Linked DNA regions of Homo sapiens: regions 2 and 3 are each linked to region 1. Evidence: promoter capture Hi-C in human tissues and cell types (Jung and others, 2019). All regions are on one chromosome and are shown on one strand. The core of a region is centred on a gene start or on the middle of the fragment in contact, and the rest is flanking DNA. Distances in the headings are between cores, read along the strand shown.

Region 1 (3,000 bases), core at 432-2,931:
AATGCTCATTACATAAAACATCCTTTCTTCCTGGATTCAAAGGTTTTAGCAGCAGTAATCCAGGGAATATTATAGCAGCAATTATTGCTCATTTACTCAATGTGAAAGGTGACAATCACATTTGTTACAGTACTCAATATTTTAATGTCACTATAAACACTAAGTGAAATAAGCTATTCAGGTATCCCAATTAATGACAAATGGGTGAAAAGGAAACCAGACAAAAATATTTCACCGTTCATACTCTAGATACTGTGAAAAATATCCTTGTTTCCTGTTATAACAGGGTACCTTCGTTCTCTCCCAGCATATGCCACACCTTTTAGGTTGACAAAAGCAGAAAGACATCGGGGCTTTGTGTTTTAAAAATCCCAAAAAAGACTACTCAAACCTCTCCCCAAGAGCAAATTCTAAGAAGGAAGAATACCACCTCCCTTTTCTTTACCACAAACCCCTGACTTACCGTCTCTAGCAACCAGAGAGGGCTGGGGGTAGGGGAGAGGGTGGTTAGAAAACAGAACGCACGACTCGGTCATATCCTAGCCCGGCCCATCCCAAACTTCACCTAGGCACGGCGAGAAGCAGGACGGCATCAGGAATTCCTAGGAAATGGTCTCACCCCATCAGAGAACATTTTTAACTTCCTAGAAGCCACCATTTCCCCGGGGCATTATCACACACTCCCACCCGGACATATTACCTAAGAGAGTACTTATAAAAAGAGCGTAACACACACACAAAGAAATACACAGTACTTGAAGCGGGCAGCTCCGGCTCAGGCGGCGCGGGGAAGCCCGGAGACCACGCGGAGCCGCGGCCAAGTTGCCACCGCTATCGCCCCGACGGTGAAGGCGCGGCCGCAGGCGGCTGGAAAAGCAGCGCGCGGGGCTCCAGCTCCAGCCCCACGCCCGGACCCTCGGAGCAGTAAAGCCCGGCTCGGTGGCCCAGCCTCTCCCGGAGGTCTCTGGCCTCGGCCAGAGCAATAAGGTGGATCGGTGCTTCCCACCCTTCCAGCTCCGCCCTCCCGACCACATTCCTGAGAAGCCCTACTCCCGCGACGCCGCGCCCGGGAGGAGGCAGGAGCGCGACGCTGCGGCCGCAGGGCAGGAGCGTAGTCGGCCCCGCGCCCTCCCGCCCCCTGGCCCCGGCCCGGGCCCGCGAGGCGCCTCTGGGGCGAGGTCGCGGCGGCCGCCCCGCCACAGGTAGCGCCAGCCCCCGCCCGCCGCCGCTCCGGCGCCCCGGGCAGGCCCGCTCCAGGTACCTGGATGAACTGGATGGTGAGCGCCGACTTGCCCACGCCGCCCCCGCCGACCACCACGAGCCGGTACTTCTCCTGGCCGGAGCCGTCCCGCCAGCCGGCCGCGGCCATGGGGACGCTACAGAGCCCAGCCTGACTGCGCCGAGCCGCCGCTGCCGCCCGCCCTAGGCCCGGCTCCGGGGACGTGTGCGGCCGGCGGGCTGCGGGCGAGCGGCCGGGCTGGGGTCCCGGGTACCGGGAGGCGTCTGGAGGGCCGGTCAGCGCGGTAGCGCGGCGCTGGGGACTGGCTGGGTACCGCCCGAGGCGCGGAGAAGCGGGGTGACGGCACGGGCCAGGGGCGGCAGCGGCCGGGGGGCGCGCTCCTCTACGCGTCTCCGCAGCGCCTGCCGAACGCAGCCTCCAGCGCCGCCACAAATGGCCGTCTGGGGGCCGGGCTGCCAGGCTGAGGTGCTGCATATGCATGAGGGGGCGGGGAGGGGCGGGGCCGCGCCGCTTGGGGCTGAGGTTCGGGAGGTAACCCGGGCTTCAGACCCCCACGGACACACCGCTCTAATCCCTAGCCAGTGAGCGAGTGCGTGAGAGTGTGGGAGTGGGTGTCAGTTGGGAGTGGGACGAAGGCAGAAAGAGTGTGTCACCCTAATTGTCTATGTAAGGGATTGTGTGGATGAAAAATACAATATGTGACGGCGTGTGCGAAAAATAGGGCTGTTGGCATATTAACTCAATTTTATAGGAGAGTACATACCCTGCTTTAAGAGTACAGATGGTGACCATATTTGTGTGAAAAACAGTATGTGACAGTGATTGAGGATTAGAGCTGTGTCACAGTAATTGAGTGTGTGATGGGCTGGTGGTTGTGACAGTGTGAAGAATGGGACAGTGGCTGAGCATGGAGAATAAGTCAGTGATTGAGCTTGCATGGGCAAGACGGAATGTGACAGATTTTGTATGTGTCAGTACAGTGTCATAGTGGCTATGTTTATGTGTGACAAATGTGCAGTAATTGGATATGAGGAGTGTGAGTGCGAGGGGTTGAACTCCTGGCCTCAAGCAATCCTCCCGCCTCGGCCTCCCAAAGTGCTGGAATTACAGGTGTGAGTCACTGCACCCGGCCTCATGGGGTTTTTAATAAGAATTAAATGAGCACATAAAACAGTGCTGCTACACAGGAAGCATTTACAGCAATCTTGGAACATGACTGCAAGTTCTTGGACTTCACTTGGTAACTCATTTGGAACCAGTAGAATGCAGCAGAAGAGATGCTGCCTAATTTCCCAGGCTAGATCAGAAGAGGCCATGCAGCTGTTCTCTTGGTATTCTCACTCCGGGAGGAACAAAGTCAGAAGTTTGACTATCATAAGACTGCCATGCTAAAGAGGCTACATGTAGGCATGCCAGTCGAAGTCTGATTGATGGCCAGGAGCAACATGCCATTTAAAAAAAAAAAAAAAAAGTCCCACTGAGCTCCCACCAGATCACCAGCATCACCTGCCAGCCATCTAAGTGAGACATCTTGGACACTCAGCCTAATCGAGCCTTCCAATGACGGCATCCCCTGTTAGCATCTGAATGCAACTGCGTGAGAGACCCCAAGCAAAAATACCCATCCAGGCCAGCCCATCCTGAATTCCTTTTTTAAAAATCTTTTTTTTTTCTTTTTTGAGACAAGATCCCTCTGTCACCCAGGCTGAAGTGTAGTGGCACAATCATGGCCCACTGCAACCTCCAACTTCTGGACTCAA
Region 2 (2,919 bases), core at 276-2,775, 400 kb before region 1:
AACCCAATTGGTAAACCTGACACTTCAGCAATTATATTTTCCAGCTGAGAGACGTGCAAAACTTGAGCCCTAGTTAATTGGAAGGCATAAAAAGAGCCTTTTTATTGCCTCACATGGATACTTCATTATGGTAATAGGAGGACGGGAGCCTCATTTCCTCTGTTGTTTCTCAGACACTCTTATGTATTTCTTTATGCACTAAATATGCTTTCTGGTCATTTCTGTCTTCTTCCCTATTTCCAGTTCTGTTTGCTTTGTCTCCTTCCCTCCCTTCTGTCTCTTTCTCTTCTTGTCAGGCAGAAAGGATGTAGGTCTATTTTCTCCTCTACTCTCCGCCCTCAGTGCCTTCCTCCAGTTCCAGCTTTATGCATGAGCAAAGGAGCGATCAGCCAACAAGCTTGGGAAGCTCTCCAGAACCATGAGTACCTTCTAGGTTACAGAGGCTAGAGTCCTACATCTTTTGTTTACCCTGGGATGCCATTGTAAACATCCTCCTGTGTCACCTTGTGAACCAGGTAGGGAACTCAAGATTACTATTTTCCCATTAGCATGCTAGCAAAATTACATCTATCAAATCGGTCTATTGGTTTGGAAATCAGAGCACAAAGCTGAGAAGTAACATAAGACAGCTAAGCTTTGAGAGTATCTTAAAGGGAGTGTTGGGGCACAATACCAACTCCCAGGTCTCTGTCTCCAGTGCTCACTCCCTTCTGAGATAGAAACCTATTGTCTTTGACAGTCCACTGTACATCCCCCTCTGAAAGACCCCTTAAATGTCAAGTGTCCACAATGGAATATATATCATCTCACACATTCCTCATTCCCACATGTCCCGTGGGTTCTCTTCTTGAATTTGTTGTCTTGGAAAAATATACCACTGAGGTGGTAGATATACAACCCAGTGGCCCTTATGAGAACTCTCAGAGCCACTCCCGTCTCCCTTCCTGCATATCACCAGGCGTTCCATCCTCTTTAGTCTGCTTCCTGAACAGCCCTCCAATTCATCCCTTCCTCCTAGCCTTAGCTCGCAGCTCTCCTCTGGACTGTTGTTAAAGCCTCTTAACATGTGTCACCCCCCCTACACTCTCACTGGACAATCCATCTTCATACAATGCCACTGAAAAGGTCACTCTGCTACCCGAAGGACACACTCTGCCTTCTCTCATCTCTAAGCTTTTGCATTAGCTCTCCTCCCCTCCTATATTCTCCATCCCCGTGTCCAGTTGACAAGTTCTGATCTGTCTTTCGAGAAGGTGTTGAGTACCTTTTCAAGTGTTACTTTACCTGGGCAGAATTAGTTACTCCCTTCTCTGTGCCCCCTTTAATACTTAGTACACATAATTCTTTGTTTTACAAATATCTGCTTTATCCATCTCTGCGGCTTCTTGAAGGCAGGAATTATGTCTTGTTTTTCTTTGGATTACCTCCTCCAATACATGTTTGCTGAATGAATGAAAGGCTTAAATTTCACAAAAATTCACTAAACACCTGCTTTATGCAGACATATTATTCTAAAATAGTGTAAAACTCAATGAGTCTATTCTCAAAGAGCAAACAATCTAGTCTAAAATGGGCCCAAACATTCCAGTTTAAAATAGGTTCAAGGAGTGCCGGGGTGCTTAGGAGTTTTTACTTAATACTGCTGCATGTTCAGTTCACTGTCACCAGGTGGCAGTAGTGTGCCATGGTCATGTGGTCCAAGCCATGAAGTTCCCAGAACTTCAAAAAAGTGGTTCTGCTTGGGTCGGGTTGCTAGATTAATAGCAAGAGAACCACAAGGGGAATGTAGACTGCGTCTGGGTTCTATGTGTGGCTGGACTTGCAAGGGTTTGCTCTTGGGAGCTGCCCACAGCTGCACCTGGCATGCTGTGCTGCATTTAGACACAGTGCTCTCTTTAATCCGTAAACCTAAAAGCAAGGAGACTTAGAGATCTCCAGGTTGGGAGCAGATCTATACCTTGGAAGACCTCCTGCTGTGCAATTCTTTTTAACTGCTCTCAGTGGTGAGCTTCTATTCCGCTGTTTTTAATTCAGACAACGTCTATGGCAATTAGGAGGTCTTAGGTGATCTCTGTTAGAACACTTTCCGTAAAGAGATATGAGCTGATTCCAAGCTACACCACATGAAAAAAAAAATGAGTGAAAACTGAGGAAACAGAGTTACAACAGAGGACACAGAGAGTGAGACAAGGTCAGTAAAAAGTCCAGTCTCTTGACTAGCACTACCTGAATCCCTAGTCCAATTCCCCGCCCAGGATGGGGAAGACTTAGCTAGAGCCGCAGGCCAAGGACATGGACAGAAACAGAAACAGAAATACAAGAGGGAGAGAGGATAAGAGCTAGATCAGTGTTTGGCAGAAGTCAGGAAATGAGGACAAGAATGCAAGTAGGGGATTAGCCTTGAAAAAATTGAAGAGTTAAACCCTTCTGCATTTGAGGCAAGAAGTGAACTTGGATTTTGCCAGAGTTTGGTTTGTGGAAGGAGATATGGAGATTTGAAGAAGTTCATGCCTAATGTCCCCCATGTGAGGGATAAAATAAGAGGGCAAGTAACCACCCCTCTCCATACCAAAGAGTGAGAATTAAAGAGTGATGAAGCAGGCTTGAAAAGATGGTAAGGACTAGATGAATAGGAAAAGAAACTGATTAGGAATAAATTTAAGAACTATACTTAAAGGTAGAATTCATGCATTTGTAGTAAAGTAATTGGCAGGGTTACCAGGTTTTGTGCAGCAGAACTCAGAAGTCGGGGAGGGTTCCATTGTTTTGCTTGGTTGATTTGCTGTAGGTTGGGGGTTAAAGAGGAGGAACAGAAATAAAAGAGGAGAGCTAATGAAGAATGGTGGTTAGGATATAGTTAAAATGATTGAACATGGTGTCCAGGCTGGGTGGGGAAGGAATTAACAAGATGGGCTGGAA
Region 3 (2,799 bases), core at 193-2,692, 440 kb before region 1:
GCCATGAGATATGACTTGTACATTTATATAAAGGAGAAAAGAAAGTCATTTTCCAAGTTAGTTTCCACAGCAACAATATTCCATATTTTCTTCTTCTGTGTCTAAACATGAGCATGCCTCAACTAGGGGGTGGAATATAATTCTTGCAAAATACCAGTTAAGACCAACCGTGAGTGTGAAAGCTTCAGGGATCACATTCATTCAACAAGCACTGATTACAAGCCTACCCTAGACCAGGAACTGTGGGAGACCTTGGAGATGTAGGGAGGAAGAAGCCCCAAGGTCTGCCCTCTAGATCCTTGTGTGCAATGAGAAAGAGCCAGATAGAAGGATGAATTAATAGAATGTGATAAAGTGCTATAATGGAGATACGTTTGGAGTATTAGGAGGGGGCAATTAACAGCCCCAAGAAGTCATGGACATTTGACCTAGATTTTGAATTTGAAAGAGGTATTTGACCTTGATCTTGAATGATCAATAAACTTTTGCAAATTGGGGAGGAAAGACGGGAAAGTGGGCAATTAAGACAAAGACAAATGTATGTTCAAAAACATACAAACTGAACAAATAGAGGTATGGAAGAGCAAAATCATTGAGAAAAGACAGGGTGGAGGGGGTGAGGAAGAGGCTATGAAGTAGGTTGAGGCTGTTTGGGAAGCATAATATGTGCCTAACTAAAGTGTAAGGATTTGATCTTGTAGATGATGAGAAACCACCAAACCTAATAACGCAGAGGCGAGATCAGTTTTATGCTATTAGAATATTCACATGAGCTGCAGAATAGACAATGAAAATAATTGAAAGAGTTGGGAAGAATGAAGGCAGAGTGATCCCCCTAAGATTTCATAGTTTATCTCAGGGTTTGAGAATGTACTGGGATGTAAAAACATGTGCATATGCTTTGGATCCTAATAGAGTACTCAGCAAAAGTTAGTTCTCTCTTTCCCTCCCCATCTTGTTTAACCCCATACTTGGCAGCTGAGCTACTGTTAATCCTTTGCTGAGATTTTGCAGAGGAGGATTTTAGGCATGAAGAGAAAAATTCGTGGCCCAAAGTTACAGAGCTAGGAAATGGCAGGGCTAGAATTTGAACCCAGGCATTCAGACACCAGAGGCAGGGTGAGTAATCACCACACTGTTACCTTTAGCTAAGTGGGAGATTTGTTGTAAGGATTAAGTGAGACGATATATATTTCTTGCTGAGATGATGATATAGTTAGCCATTTGACTGAATCCTTACTCCTCCCCCAAAACCTGTCCTCCTGGTCTGTGACCTTAATCTGGTCAGTTCCCATTTTTCAGGGTCCCACATCAGCCCTCATAGTTCTGTACTTACCTTCATCCCAAGGTTAGAATTGCTCTCTACAGTCTTTGTTGCAGTTTCTTTTCTAATTTCAGGTCCCAACACCTTCTCTCCCATGTGTTCTCATGTAATACCCCTCTCAATGGCCCTTTGTGAAATGCCTGGCCCTCTTCATATAGATCCTGGTACTCTTTCCCCCTGAAGTAAGTTTCCAAAGTGGGAATACCACAGAGCCTCTCTTGACCAGAGATCTTGCTTGTTAAATAGATATTAATCAATGTTGCTGAGATGCCACTCTACCTAAAACTGCCCCACTCAAAATTCTGAGATTTGTGACCCAAGAGGATCCAGTCTGGTGACCAATTCAATTCTCTCTCTCTCTCTCTCCTCTCTCTCTCCCTGTCGGACTTAAAACTAGAGACTGAGATACTTAGTCCATCTGAGATGCTAGAACTTGGAAGTCAGGTGGAGCAGAAGCTTGGGCTCTGCTCCTGGACCTGCTGGAGCTGGACTACGGATGGGGAGAGTTGAGGGATTGTGCAGCCCCTTACCCTTGGTTCCTGGCTTTAATGGATGTTGGCTCTCTATAAAGCCCTTGGGATCTGAGAGACATTCACTATCTGCTTCCATTGAGCTTTCCTTCTGGGGTTGTGTCATTTTGAGTGGGTTTCTGTTTCTCACATTCAAATATTTCCTAACTCTGCTATAGAACTATGAGTGGTGTTGTCATATATGAGTTGTGTGCGGGCTCAATTGTAAACCCCATCAGAGCCAGATAAAAAGAATTTAGGGGGAGTGATGGAATCCATATTGAGACTTGGCATCCAAAGTAGGTTTCTTTTCTTTGCTCATAGCTTGTAACGATGTTATAAAAGAGGCTGCTTCTGTTGCCACCTAATTTTCTTTTTTTTAACCTCTCGGGGTAGACTATAACAAAGGACTCTAGAAAAACAATTATCCACTTTTATGTGGCTTAAAATATTTGGCCAGCCTTACCCTAACAATTTTGGCTAATATGAGAGCAAATTGTGGAGACTAATTATTTAAAGTCCTAAGAATTATAGTACTAAGGAACATACACGTAGAGTGGGGGCCACCAGTAAATTTTAGGATTCAGAAGCTGCGTCTGTTTGTCATTGTTATAAGCCTGTGTGTGTGCGCGCACACACACACACACACACACACACACACACACACACCAGGATTCTACCACACAAGACAGCACCTGACTTTTTAAAATATGTCCTTTTTTATTTTGACAGTGAGCTATGCCAGGTGATCAATTTGAATGACCATTAATCAGTGCAATGAGGTGTCAAAGAAGGCAGAAATCATTAGGAAGGTATTGTCTCTGGAGAGTTTTGCAATTTTCCAAATTTATCTTTATCTAAAGAGACTCATGAGGCTCCACGGTGACATATGTGTCCTATTTACTTCATCAGAACCAGGGTAGCTGGGCACAGATGCACCCAATGAGGGATGAGCTATATCAGTCT

The links. The method cuts DNA at HindIII sites, captures the fragments that hold promoters and counts their contacts. A contact is called where the count stands out against the background at its distance.
Region 2: a contact is called between a fragment that was not itself captured here and the fragment with the promoter of RRAS2 in region 1, in 1 of the 25 tissues and cell types used here (hippocampus).
Region 3: a contact is called between a fragment that was not itself captured here and the fragment with the promoter of RRAS2 in region 1, in 2 of the 25 tissues and cell types used here (mesendoderm cells and spleen).

Annotation. Positions count from the first base shown.
Region 1 is chr11:14,357,502-14,360,501 of GRCh38, forward strand. It overlaps RRAS2 (RAS related 2), which reads right to left and starts at 1,682. Exons shown (of 6, transcript NM_012250.6): 1 at 1,262-1,682. The coding sequence starts at 1,369. RefSeq lists an enhancer at 512-611 and silencers at 852-971, 1,012-1,211, 1,282-1,781. The HindIII fragment of the contact is 8,284 bases long and covers 559-3,000 here.
Region 2 is chr11:13,954,398-13,957,316 of GRCh38, forward strand. No RefSeq gene overlaps it. Among named protein-coding and RNA genes, the nearest start is that of SPON1, 6.9 kb to the right of the region's middle. The HindIII fragment of the contact is 4,411 bases long and covers 1-2,919 here.
Region 3 is chr11:13,918,918-13,921,716 of GRCh38, forward strand. It overlaps LINC02683 (long intergenic non-protein coding RNA 2683), which reads right to left. Exons shown (of 2, transcript NR_135052.1): 2 at 2,530-2,799. Among named protein-coding and RNA genes, the nearest start is that of LINC02683, 4.5 kb to the right of the region's middle. The HindIII fragment of the contact is 6,050 bases long and covers 1-2,799 here.